Regions from separate parts of the Homo sapiens genome. Here regions 1, 2 and 4 are each linked to region 3. Evidence: promoter capture Hi-C in 16 types of primary human blood cells and fetal thymus (Javierre and others, 2016). All regions are on one chromosome and are shown on one strand. Each heading gives the region's core, a stretch centred on a gene start or on the middle of the fragment in contact. The rest is flanking DNA. Distances are from core to core; before and after follow the strand shown. Region 1 overlaps LOC101928387 (a long non-coding RNA gene). Region 2 overlaps AEBP2 (AE binding protein 2). Region 3 holds the start of PDE3A (phosphodiesterase 3A). Region 4 has its middle 240 kb from the start of LINC02398.

The links. The method cuts DNA at HindIII sites, captures the fragments that hold promoters and counts their contacts. A CHiCAGO score of 5 or more calls a contact.
Region 1: a fragment that was not itself captured here is called in contact with the fragment with the promoter of PDE3A in region 3 in 2 of 17 cell types (megakaryocytes and erythroblasts); the score reaches 12.1 in megakaryocytes.
Region 2: a contact is called between a fragment that was not itself captured here and the fragment with the promoter of PDE3A in region 3, in 1 of 17 cell types (megakaryocytes). The highest score is 7.3, in megakaryocytes.
Region 4: a contact is called between a fragment that was not itself captured here and the fragment with the promoter of PDE3A in region 3, in 1 of 17 cell types (M2 macrophages). The highest score is 5.7, in M2 macrophages.

What each region holds. Positions count from the first base shown.
Region 1 is chr12:19,572,079-19,574,778 of GRCh38, reverse strand. The region is part of intron 3 of LOC101928387 (a long non-coding RNA gene); the gene reads right to left. Among named protein-coding and RNA genes, the nearest start is that of AEBP2, 130 kb to the right of the region's middle. RefSeq lists an enhancer at 1,545-1,634. The HindIII fragment of the contact is 2,808 bases long and covers 1-2,700 here.
Region 2 is chr12:19,506,817-19,509,516 of GRCh38, reverse strand. All of the region lies in intron 5 of AEBP2 (AE binding protein 2), which reads right to left. It also overlaps the pseudogene RPL34P25. Among named protein-coding and RNA genes, the nearest start is that of AEBP2, 69 kb to the right of the region's middle. The HindIII fragment of the contact is 1,145 bases long and covers 820-1,964 here.
Region 3 is chr12:20,367,251-20,369,950 of GRCh38, reverse strand. It overlaps PDE3A (phosphodiesterase 3A), which reads right to left and starts at 1,414. Exons shown (of 16, transcript NM_000921.5): 1 at 1-1,414. The coding sequence starts at 666. It overlaps PDE3A-AS1 (PDE3A antisense RNA 1), which reads left to right. Exons shown (of 2, transcript NR_186033.1): 1 at 1-110. RefSeq lists a silencer at 82-376. The HindIII fragment of the contact is 3,200 bases long and covers 1-1,672 here.
Region 4 is chr12:19,778,176-19,780,875 of GRCh38, reverse strand. No RefSeq gene overlaps it. Among named protein-coding and RNA genes, the nearest start is that of LINC02398, 240 kb to the left of the region's middle. The HindIII fragment of the contact is 1,498 bases long and covers 518-2,015 here.

The DNA of each region.
Region 1 (2,700 bases), core at 112-2,611, 800 kb after region 3:
AACTCACCAGGTTCCTGATACCCACCTCATTTCTCTCCACCCTCCAGCAGAGGGCTTATCACCCCATAACTCTAATCTCCTGTAAACTCTAATCCCATAACCCAGATGTCCTCCTCTCCTCTCCCCAAGGCCACAGATGAGGCAATCTCATTCTTCCTCAAGTTTCTTGCTAATTATATAGCTATAGTATAATGTGCCTAGATTCTTTCAGTTCCTTTCTTTTGGCTCTCAAAATCCTGTTTGGAAGAAAAAATAAGAAAAAAAAAAAAAAAGGTAGAGTGCGCAGTGGCTAATGCCTGTAATCCCAGCACTTAGGCCGAGGCAGGAGAATTGTGTGAGCCCAGGAGTTTGAGCCTCGCACCACTGCACCTCACTGGACAAGACCCACTGGCCTGGGACCCTAGCGCAGCCAGCCCCGCCTAACTCTTAGGTGGGGGGCAACTCTCCACTTCCCTGGGCCACGGCTCCTAGAGGATGCAGGCAGGCCACCATTTTTGCTGCTCTGCCATCCTCTCTCCTGTTGCCCCCCAGGTTCCTGAGGGAAGCTGTGATTAGGAACTAAGACAGGCCTCCAGCACAGCAGCGCTTCGTGGAAAAGCTGCCAGACTGTTTTCCATGGGGTGACAGCCCTTGCTCCTCCTCACTGGGCAGGGCCTCCCAACCTGGGCCCCCGCACGACCAGCCTGAACTAGGGAAGGAACAAAGGGCCTGCTCGCTACTCTGGAACCTCGAGCGAGCGCATGGCAGCCACCATGCAGAGAGAAGCCCAGTCTCTCTTCCCTGAGAGCCCCCACCCCCACTCTTCACCAGGCAGGGCCCCCAGCTCTGGACCACAGAGCAGCCGCCCCACCCCCGGCTGAGCACACCCATTTTGCTGGGGGCTCTGAGTTTCCCTGGAGAGGGGGGGCGGTCCCAAAGGCAACCGACAGCCCCTCTGTCGCAGCCACTGCATCGGTTCTGCCCTTGCTGCCCTTGGACTGGAGAAGGAACAGAGCCTGGAAATTTTACTGGCGCCTCCAGCACGCCACAGTCACCGCAGAGAGAGGGGCCCAGTCTCCTTTCCTGTGAGCCCTCGGCCCCCACTCTTCACCAAGCAGGGCCGGCTCAGGCCAGCAGCGCAGCCGTCTCACCCCCTGGCTGAACATTCCCATTAGCAGCAGCTCTGCGCATCTCCAAGATAGAGAGCTCCCAGAGACAACCAGAAGCCCGTCTCTCACTGCCACCGCAGCGGTCCTGCCCTTGCTGCCTTCAGATTGGGAAAGGAACAAAAACCCTGAGTGCTTTACCCACACTTCCAGCACACCACAGCCGTCCTAAGGAGAAGAGGCCAGTCTGTCTCTCCTGTGAGCCATCGGCCCCCCTGTTCACCACCAGGCCGGGCCCCTTGGCTTAGGCCCACAACCCAGCCACCTCACCCTCGGCCAATCCCGCTGATTGGGAGCGGCTCGGCATTTCTCTGGGATGGATCCCCAAGAGACAAGTGAAAGGACCTCTTCCACAGCCACCGCCAAGATCCCTTCCCCTGCTTCCTCCAAGCTGTGGAGGGAACATAAAGCCTGAGCTCGGCTCAGGACTTCAGTGTGCAGCCCGGGAGTGGCAAGCCGAGATCTGCAGCCAGAATCGAGGAGTAGAGGAGCCCAAACATTGGGAGTGCTGAGAGGGAGTACAACTACAAACACAAGGAAATACAGAGGACCCACATGGCTGAGCAAGAGCCTACCTAATTGGCCATTACACTTAAGCGCCATCTGCTGGATCACAGCCCAAATTTCAACACCAAAAACGTTTTGCTAATACATCCTCCTGTGAAACCAAAGATAAGAATTCACCTGTTAATACAAATAAAGACCCTGCACAAAGCCTCGGCCCTCTGAAAACATCCAGAAAACTGACTGTACTCAAATTACAGCACAGATAAAGGAACTTCAGCCCAGATGAGAAAGAACCAGTGCGAGAACTCTGGCAACTCAAAAAGACAAGAGTGTCTTCTTTCCTCCAAATGATGGCACTGGTTCCCCAGCAAGGGTTCTTTAACAGATTGAAATGGATGAAATGACAGAGCCAGAATTCAGAATATAAATAGGATTGAATATCATCAAGACTGGGGAGAAAGTCAAAACCCAATTCAAGGAATCTAAGGATTGCAGTAAAACAATCCAGGAGCTGAAAAATGAAATGGCTTTTATAAGAAAAAACCAAACTGATCTAATAGAGCCAAAAAACGCATTACAGAAATTATATAATACAATCACAAGTATTAACAGCAGAACAGACCAACCTGAGGAAAGAATCTTAGAGCTTGAAGACTGATTCTCAAAAATAACTGTCAGAAAAAAGGTATAAAGAAGAATAAACAAAAACTACAAGAAATATGGGATTATGTAAAGAGAGAAAACCTATGACTCACTGGCATCCCTGAAAGAGAGGAAGAGAAAACAAACAACTTGGAAAACGTATTTGAGGATATCATCCAGGAAAATTTCCCCAGCCTCGACAGAGAGACCAACATTCAAATTCAGGAAATGCAGAGAAATGACCATCTCCAAGACACATAATCATCAGATTATCCAAGGTAAACATGAAAGAAAAAATATTAAAGGCACCTAGAGAGAAGAGGCAGGTCACCTGCGACGGGAAATACATCAGGTTAACCGTGGATTTTTCTGCAGAATCTCTACAAGCCAGAAGAGATTGGGGGCC
Region 2 (2,700 bases), core at 143-2,642, 860 kb after region 3:
ACCTCAGCCTCCCAAGTGCTGAGATTACAGGTGTGAGCCACAGCACCCAGCCTCAACTTCACTTTTAATCATATATTTTCACAAATATATGTGAATTAAAGAAGCTTTAACTAATCAAGCCAAAGCCATGTTATTATTAAGAGAATGAAAATGCCATTTGTTTTACTAAGTATGTGGCTTAGCTTAGCCAACCAAAAGCATTCATAGTAGATGAAATTTTTTCAAGTCTTTTCATTTTTATTACTTAAAAAAGTTGCATTTTTCAATTTAGCTGACTCTGTGCTTGTGCCTTCAACACTTACACCCCAATTTTCTACTCCTTAATAAGGAAAGCATGTTTGATCCTGTCACAAACACATTTAGCACACATGGAACCACCACAGGCCCTGCTGACATGTTCTTTGCTTTGGACAATCTCATTAAGAACTTTAGGTCTCACAGCACGAACCCCTCCATGTCTGCCTGGGCACATGCCACATGCAGATTTTGGTGCTTTCCCAACGTTCTTAGTAAAAAGGTAAACAACTCTATTACCAAGGGTCTGGGACAGACTTGTTTTGTTAGAGGCTGTATTGTAGAAAAGCCTACGACAGTATGTCAAATGCTGGACCATTCTGAGTGCCTGCAGACAACGTTCCGGAAGAGGAAGAAGAAAGCCTTTGAAATATTTTTAAATGAATAAACAGTAAAGAAAAAATACTAATGAGAAGGAAAAGTCTCTAATTTACAACTTAAGGCATTTGTTTATCTCCTGGAGTTTTTTGCTGTAGTTGGTTTTATTTTAAATGAAAGGTAGGCCAATCAGTCTAGGTTTAAGCTTAAGGAATCTATGCAAGTTAACATCGATCTAACAGAAAGACCCAAAAAAGTATAAGAAAAGCAATATATTTTCCTTTCATTACCAGATTCTGAAAATTAAGATAATGCTTAAATAAAATAAAATCAGGCAAAACAATAACGTCAAACTCTTAAAATTTCCATATAAACAAAATTAGAACTTTAGTGTTTTAATAGTCTTAATCTCAATTTTTTTAATCAAGTTCCAACCACCCAAACAAAATAATCTTGTAATCCTGAAAACATATTAGGACTGAGTAAAAGCAGAGCTTTAAGCAAAAACAAAACACTGTCTCCACTATATAAAAACCTATGGTGAGGCCAGACGCAGTGGCTCACACCTATAATCCCAGCACTTTGGGAGGCTGAGGCAGGAGGACTGCTTGAGCCCAGGAATTCGAGGCCAGCCTGGACAACATGGTGAATCCCCGTTTCTAGTTTTTATTTTTTAAAATATGGTTTTTTTAAAAACAACAAAAAAAGTCTGTAGTCAAATAAATACTCTGATTCTAGACTTGGCAACAAAATTTAAAAGCCCAAACACAGGTCTGGAGCTGCTAAAACAAAATACCTCTACAATGAAATAATACACAAAAACAATGCAAGCCAACCAAGCACAGCAAGCCAACTGATTGGTAACTAGGATTTTGCTGACCTCTTCTGGAGAAGGCTCGAAAGAAAATATTTCAATTAATGAAATAAGGCACATTAGGCAAACCAAACAGTATAGTACCTCATAGCCTTCTTTTAACCAATTGTTTCATTATTTGTATTATTTTCTATAAAAGTTAATTTGATAACAAAGTAACTTAAATTTGCAGTTAGTACTGAATGTTTTTTACTACTAACAGAATTGATTCTGTTTAACATGTACTGCCTCCATCAAAACCTTCCCAGTTATAGAACTTTGGAGCTCCAATTTGCTCACCTAGCTCCTTTCCTTTCTATTGTGTCCAGCGAAGACCTTATCTCATTATGGATGTCTCTTCCTTCCACTTTCCTTCCCCAGGAAAAAAAATCATTCTTCAGATTACATTCCACCTTTGTGACTTTTCCTCAGTTAAGGTACCTCTGCCTCCTCACTGTGACTTAAGGGTGGACATCACTCATTCCTAGGTTTTTAAGCTTACAATATATGTAAGTGTCAATGTTCTTAAGCCCTCTCAGATGTTTTCCATAGCTCAAAAGCTTTTCATTTTCATGGACTATTTTGAGTCTGCGCAAATTTTTTATTTTCTTTCTAGACTTCTAATATTATTACCACTATTTTTGGTTCCTTCATTTTCCTTCTTTTGGAGCCATCGCTATTCCTCCCATGGTGAAGCTAAGGATTTCATCAAAAGGAGCTGCTCTAATGAAAGCATATGCAAGTTAGTGCTTCCCTTTTACATCACTTCTCCCTTATCTGTAGAGACACTAGCTCATTACTAGACCACCATTTCACTAAATCTATTGCCCTTTAAATCATTAAATGTTTGGTAAGCCCCAAACACTTCAATCCTTATGCTAACTTTCTCTTTATTTACACTTATTTCCTAGGTAATCTCATCCAGTCTGATACCTATAAATACCACAAATACACTAAAAATTCCCATATTTTCTATCTGTAGCCACACCTCTCTCCTCTGAGCTCTCAATTTATAGCCATCAGCCTAAGTGACAGAGCCACTGAATGCCCTATAGGCCTCTAAATATGTCCAAATTAGATCTCTTGATACTCCCCTCTCCCCAATCTGCTTGCCTGAGAGCCTCCACGGCTCTGCCACGGAGCTGCCCAGGCCAAAAAGCCTTGGAGTTGCTGTTACCTCTTATTCTAAAACCCAGTATCTCATCCATCCATAATTCTTGTCCATAGTAACTCCA
Region 3 (2,700 bases), core at 165-2,664:
CCTGACCGCGCTAGTCAAGGCGATCATGAGGACGCCCAGCCTCAGCCTCAGCACCAGCCATGTCGCGGCGGCCAAGCAGCTGAGCACCACCCCCGCGGCGGGGAGTGAGAGTAAGTGATCCTCCCCGACGCCCAGCCCAATCTGGACGAGCGCTTCCCCCCCGCAGCAGGCGGCCAGCAGCGCGACAGCCAGAGGCAGGCGCACCCCGGCGCGCAGGAGGTACAAGCCCATCCAGAAGAAGGCACACAGGAGACTGAAGAGCAGCGCCGAGGGCTGCAGCCAGGGGCTGAGCCGCGCACCGCCCCCGGGAGCACCTCCCCGAGGCCCCGGGAAGACGCCCCCTTCTGCTCCCGGGGCTGCTTCCTCCTCCTCCGCCGCCGCCGCCTCCTTACACTGCTCCAGGTCACAGCCGACCTCCCCGCGGACCAGCCTCACCAGCAGCGCCAGCAGAAAGGACAGGGAGCCCGCGCACAGCGCGGAGGAAAGTTTCCGAGAGCTCCGGAGCGGCTGCAGCACCAGGTCTCCCCAGCAGCCACGGCAGCCCGAGTCCCGCGGCGATGCGGGGTCCGCACGATGGTGGCAGTCCCGGCCCGCCGTGGGGGCTTGACTCACCCCACTGTGGACGGGCTTGTCCCTGACTCGTGCAGCGTCGCCGGGCACTGCCATGGTATAGGGTGCCCTCTTCACTGAATTCCCAGTGGCCCCCCGACGCCCCCGCCCCGACCCACGCGCGCGCGCGCACACACACACACACACACACGCACGCACGCTCTTCCCAATTCCACCCTCGGAATCCTTCTTCTCCCCAGGCCCACAATCCACTGAAAGTTTCAGCTTTCGAATAACTCCTGGAGAATGCTAGATGCTCCAATGAGACTTCTTCAAGTTAAAGGCTAGCACGCTCAAGTTGAAAACAAGCACGGGCAGAAACGATCAGGATTCCCCTTTTCTCTCTTTGAATATCTTTCACAGATTCTCTGCTCCACCCCCACCCCCGACTTATATCCTCCGGGGTCTCTTCCTACTTCAGGATTTCAAAAATTGCCCAATGCATCCCGCGCGCAGGAGCCGCTGACGCTGGAGGAGCCGGGGGCGCAGGGCGGGCTCCGGGCCATTCCGAGGCGCAGCTCGGCGCTGCGCTGCGCTGCAGCGCGCCGGGCCCGCGGCAGATGGAGGTCTCCCTTCTCCTCCTTCCTGCAGCTCTTTTTCTATCACTCTTTCTTTCTCCTCGGCCGATTCTCCCCGGCACGGCCCCAGGACGCGAATCGCCATTCCCTGGGGCAGAAAGCAAAGCCTCCCCCGCCTCTGTCAATCCAATTCATGGCAAAGGATGGAAAAAAAAAAATGGACAAGGGGCTGAGAAATAAGAAGTTGCTAAGTCCCGTCGGAGAGAGAGCCAGACCGAGAGACTAGCGGCAGCCGCAGAAGGGAGGGAGGGAGAAGGAGCGAGTAAGAGAGGAAGGGAGGGTGAGAAGAAAGGGAGGGTGAGAAGGGAGAAGGAGATTTGCTTTTTTTTTCCCTCCCCACTTCTATTTGATGCAAGGTTGGTGGTGATTTGCAGTTTTGCAAAGGGGAAACGAGTGGCGACGACTGCTTAAAATTGTATAAAACTGGCAACTGGAGTGATCGACAATTCCGCTTTCTTTCTTTAAGGCAACTCCCTAGGAAAGCTTTCTCAGCCGAGCTCCCGCCCCCTCCTGCGGAGGAGGCGCTACCCTCAGCTCGATTGCTCCTTTGCTGGGAAAGCGGCCGGTTCACCCTACAGGCTGGAGCAGGGGCTGCTGAGGCTGATCCACCGCGCAGCCCACCGCAGCCCCGGGGTGTGGGGGGCTGCGGCTAGCCCTGAGGCTGAGCTCCCTAGAACGTTGGAAGGAAAAAAAAAAAAAAAAGATTGTGTTTGCCTACTTGGCAGATGAGAGCCAACATACTTTCTACTGTCCCTGAAAATGACAGCCACTTCTACTGTCTGATTCAAAGATGTTCCCAAGTCAGGTACAACAGCAGTCCAATTTCAGGTGACAGTGTCATCCTTTGGTCGCTCCTGCTGGAAGGTCTGCTTTATGAGAACCCAAGCCTGGCCTGTTGGTTCAAATGATGGAAGAATCAGCCTTACCTAGACCACAATAGTATAAAAAGAAAGGAAGGAGAGGCAGCAGTCATTTAAATCCAGTGCATGAGTATTACACAATAGTTTTTGACTGTGGAAAGTAAAATTACATTGAGATTAAGTGACCGTATCCTCAAAAAAGGTTAACAAAGTTTAAAAGCCCAGATAGTTCATCAAAAAATAAAGAAAAATCTCAAGGGAGAGGTGAGGATAGGTGGGTTAACACTAGGAGAGATCTTAGAAGACTGTCTATGGCTGCAAAATACTACATCTTCGAGCAAAGCATATGAAAAAAATCAGGACCTTAGTTATTAATGAGTAAAGGTTCGTGTACTGCAGCAGTGTGATATTTGAGAAACTAAAAGAAAATTTTCAAGCTAACCTTTTTTTGGCAGATTATGAAAAAGAATTCAGTATCTGTTCAATGGACTTAAACTCTATTGATGTTCCCTGGGATCTAGTTGTCTTTTTAATATGATACTCCACTTTTAACATGGCTATCTTAGATGTCATTTGCCCTCACTAATAATAATCTTAATAATCCAATTTTGTCTTAATTATCTTGACATTCCAGGTTAAAGTGTATTTACAGC
Region 4 (2,700 bases), core at 17-2,516, 590 kb after region 3:
TTATCATGGAGAATTAGCTCCCTGTATATACACCATTGATGTGCCGCTGGATTTGTTTTGCAAGTATTTTGTTGAGGATTTTTACATCAACGTTCATCAAGGATATTCGGCCAAACTGTTTTTTATATGTGTCCTGCTTCTTCTCACTGGGTGGGACCCCACAGCCTGGGACTCCAGCCAACCCCAACCAGGGCTCTCAGGCTGGTAGCAACTCGGCACTTCCCTAGGATGCAGTGTGAAGAAGGAGAGTCCGGCCACCAGTTTTTGCTGCCTTGCAGTCTCTGCTGCTATAGCCTTCAGGCTCTGGAGAGCAAGTGGTGATTAGGGAGTGGCATGGATCCCCCACACAGCGCAACTGACCCAAGGTAAAGTGGCCAGATTGTTTTTTACATGGGTCCCTGATCCCACTTCTCCTCACTGAGTGGGACCCATCTATCTGGGACTCCAGCCACTCTGTACTCACCACAACCAGGGCTCTCAGGCTAGTACAGATCTACACTTCCCTGAGACGGAAGCTTGCAGAGGGAGAGGCTGGCCACAGTTTTTGCGTCTTCCAGATCCTGCTGCTATTGCCTTCTGGTCTGGAGAGTACACGGTGATTAGGAAGTGGCATAGTTCCCCAGAACAGTGCAGCCCTCCCACAGAAAAGTGACTGGATTGTTCTCCACGTGGGCTTCTCTCTCAGCTTCTCATCACTGGGTAGGGCCACCCAACCTGGGACTCTAGCAAAACTACCCTGCCCCTTCCTGAACCCTTTAGTCAGAGGTGGGAGGAAATCCCAGAGACAACCCACAACCCCTCTGCCTCTGCAGCTACAGTAATAACACCCTAACCTCCCACAGGTTGGGGAAGGAACAGAAGGCACAATAGCTACGCTGGCAAATGCAACATACTGCAGCCACCAGACAAAAAGGAATCCAGTCTCTCTTCCTTGTGACACCCTCCCTCCCCACTGCCCCCAAAACTCTTCACCAGGCAGGGCCCCCGGCTTGGGACTGCAGAACAGCTGACCCACCCATGGTTAGGCATACCCACTGGTAGGGGCTGTTCTTCCCGGGTGAGGGGCTCCCAGAAGCAACCAAAAGCCCCCCTGCCACTGCCACAGCAATGATTCTGCCTCTGCTGCCCTCAGTCTGGAGAAAAAACAAAGAATCTAAGGGCTTCACCCGAGCTTCCAGCACACCAAGTGGAGAGGAGCCCAGTCTCTCATCCCTGTGAGCTGTGGACAAACCTCCTGCTCTTTAACAAGCAGAGCCCGGCTCAGGCTAGCAGAGCAGCTGCCCCACCCCATGGCCGAACATTCCTGGGAGCAGCAGCTTCGAATTTCTCTGAGGTGGAGCTCCCAGAAGCAACCAAAAACCCCCTTGCCACTGCCACTGTAGTGGTGCTGCCCTTGCTACCTTCAGACCAGGAAAGAAGCAAAGACGCTGAGTGCTTTAATCACACTTGCAGCGAATGGCAGTTGCGTTAAGGAGAAGAGGCCAGTTTGTCTCCCCCAGGTCCCACCCAAGGCCCCTGCTCATCACCAGGTGGGGCCCCATTAGTGTGGACCCACCGTTCAGCTGCCCCACCCCAGGCTAATTAAACTGATTGATAGCAGCTCTGCATGTTTCTGGGCTGGAGCCCAAAGAGACAAATCAAAGACCCTCTGCCACAACCACCGCTGAAGTCCCTTCCCCTGCTGCCTCAAAGCTGGGAAAGGAACATAAAGCCAGAAATCACCCTAGAGCTGTGGTGTGCAGCCCAGGAGTGCCAAGTTGAGACATGCAGCCAGCACTCAAGTGGGAGATAAACCCACACTTTCAGAGCACTGAGAGGGAGTACAACTGCAATTGTGAAGAAATACAGGGGAGCTGTGTTAACTGAGCAAGACCCTACCTACCGGCCATTACACTTAAGTGCCACCTACTGGATCACAGCACAAAACATCAATACCAAAAAATACTTTGCTAATATACTCACCGTGTGAAATCAAAAACAAGAATTTAGCTACAAATAAACACCTGAACAAAGCTTTGGCCCTCTGAAAACATCCAGAAAGGAAGTCAACTGACTGTACTCAACACCACAGTTAAAGGAACATCAGCTTGCTCACACAGATGAGAAATAACCAGCACAAGAACTCTGGCAATTAAAAAAGCCAGAGTGCCTTCTTTCCTCCAAATGCCCACACTGTCCTAACGAGGCTGAAATGGTTGAAATGATACAAATAGAATTCAGAATACAGACAGGAACAAAGATCATCGAGATTCAGGAGGACATTGAAATGCAATCCAAGGAACCTAAGAATCACATAATACAGGAGCCGTTAGATGAAATAGCCATTATAAAAAAGAACCAAAGTAATCTGATAGAGCTGAGAAACACACTACAAGAATTGCATAATGGGGGACTGGTCTAAAAAGAAAAAAAAAAGAATTGCATAATGCAATTGTGCATATTAACAGCAGAATAGACCAAGCTGAGGAAAGAATCTCGGAGGTCAAAGACTGGCTATCTAAAATGACCCAGGCAAATAAAAATAAAGAAAGAAGAATTAAAATGAACAACAACAACAAAAAACCCTCCAAGAAATGTGTGATTCTGTAAAGAAACCAAACCTATGACTCATTGGCATCCCTGAAAGAGACAGGAAGAAAGCAAGCAACTTGGAAACATATTTCAGGATATCGTCCATGAAAACTTCCCCAACCTCACTAG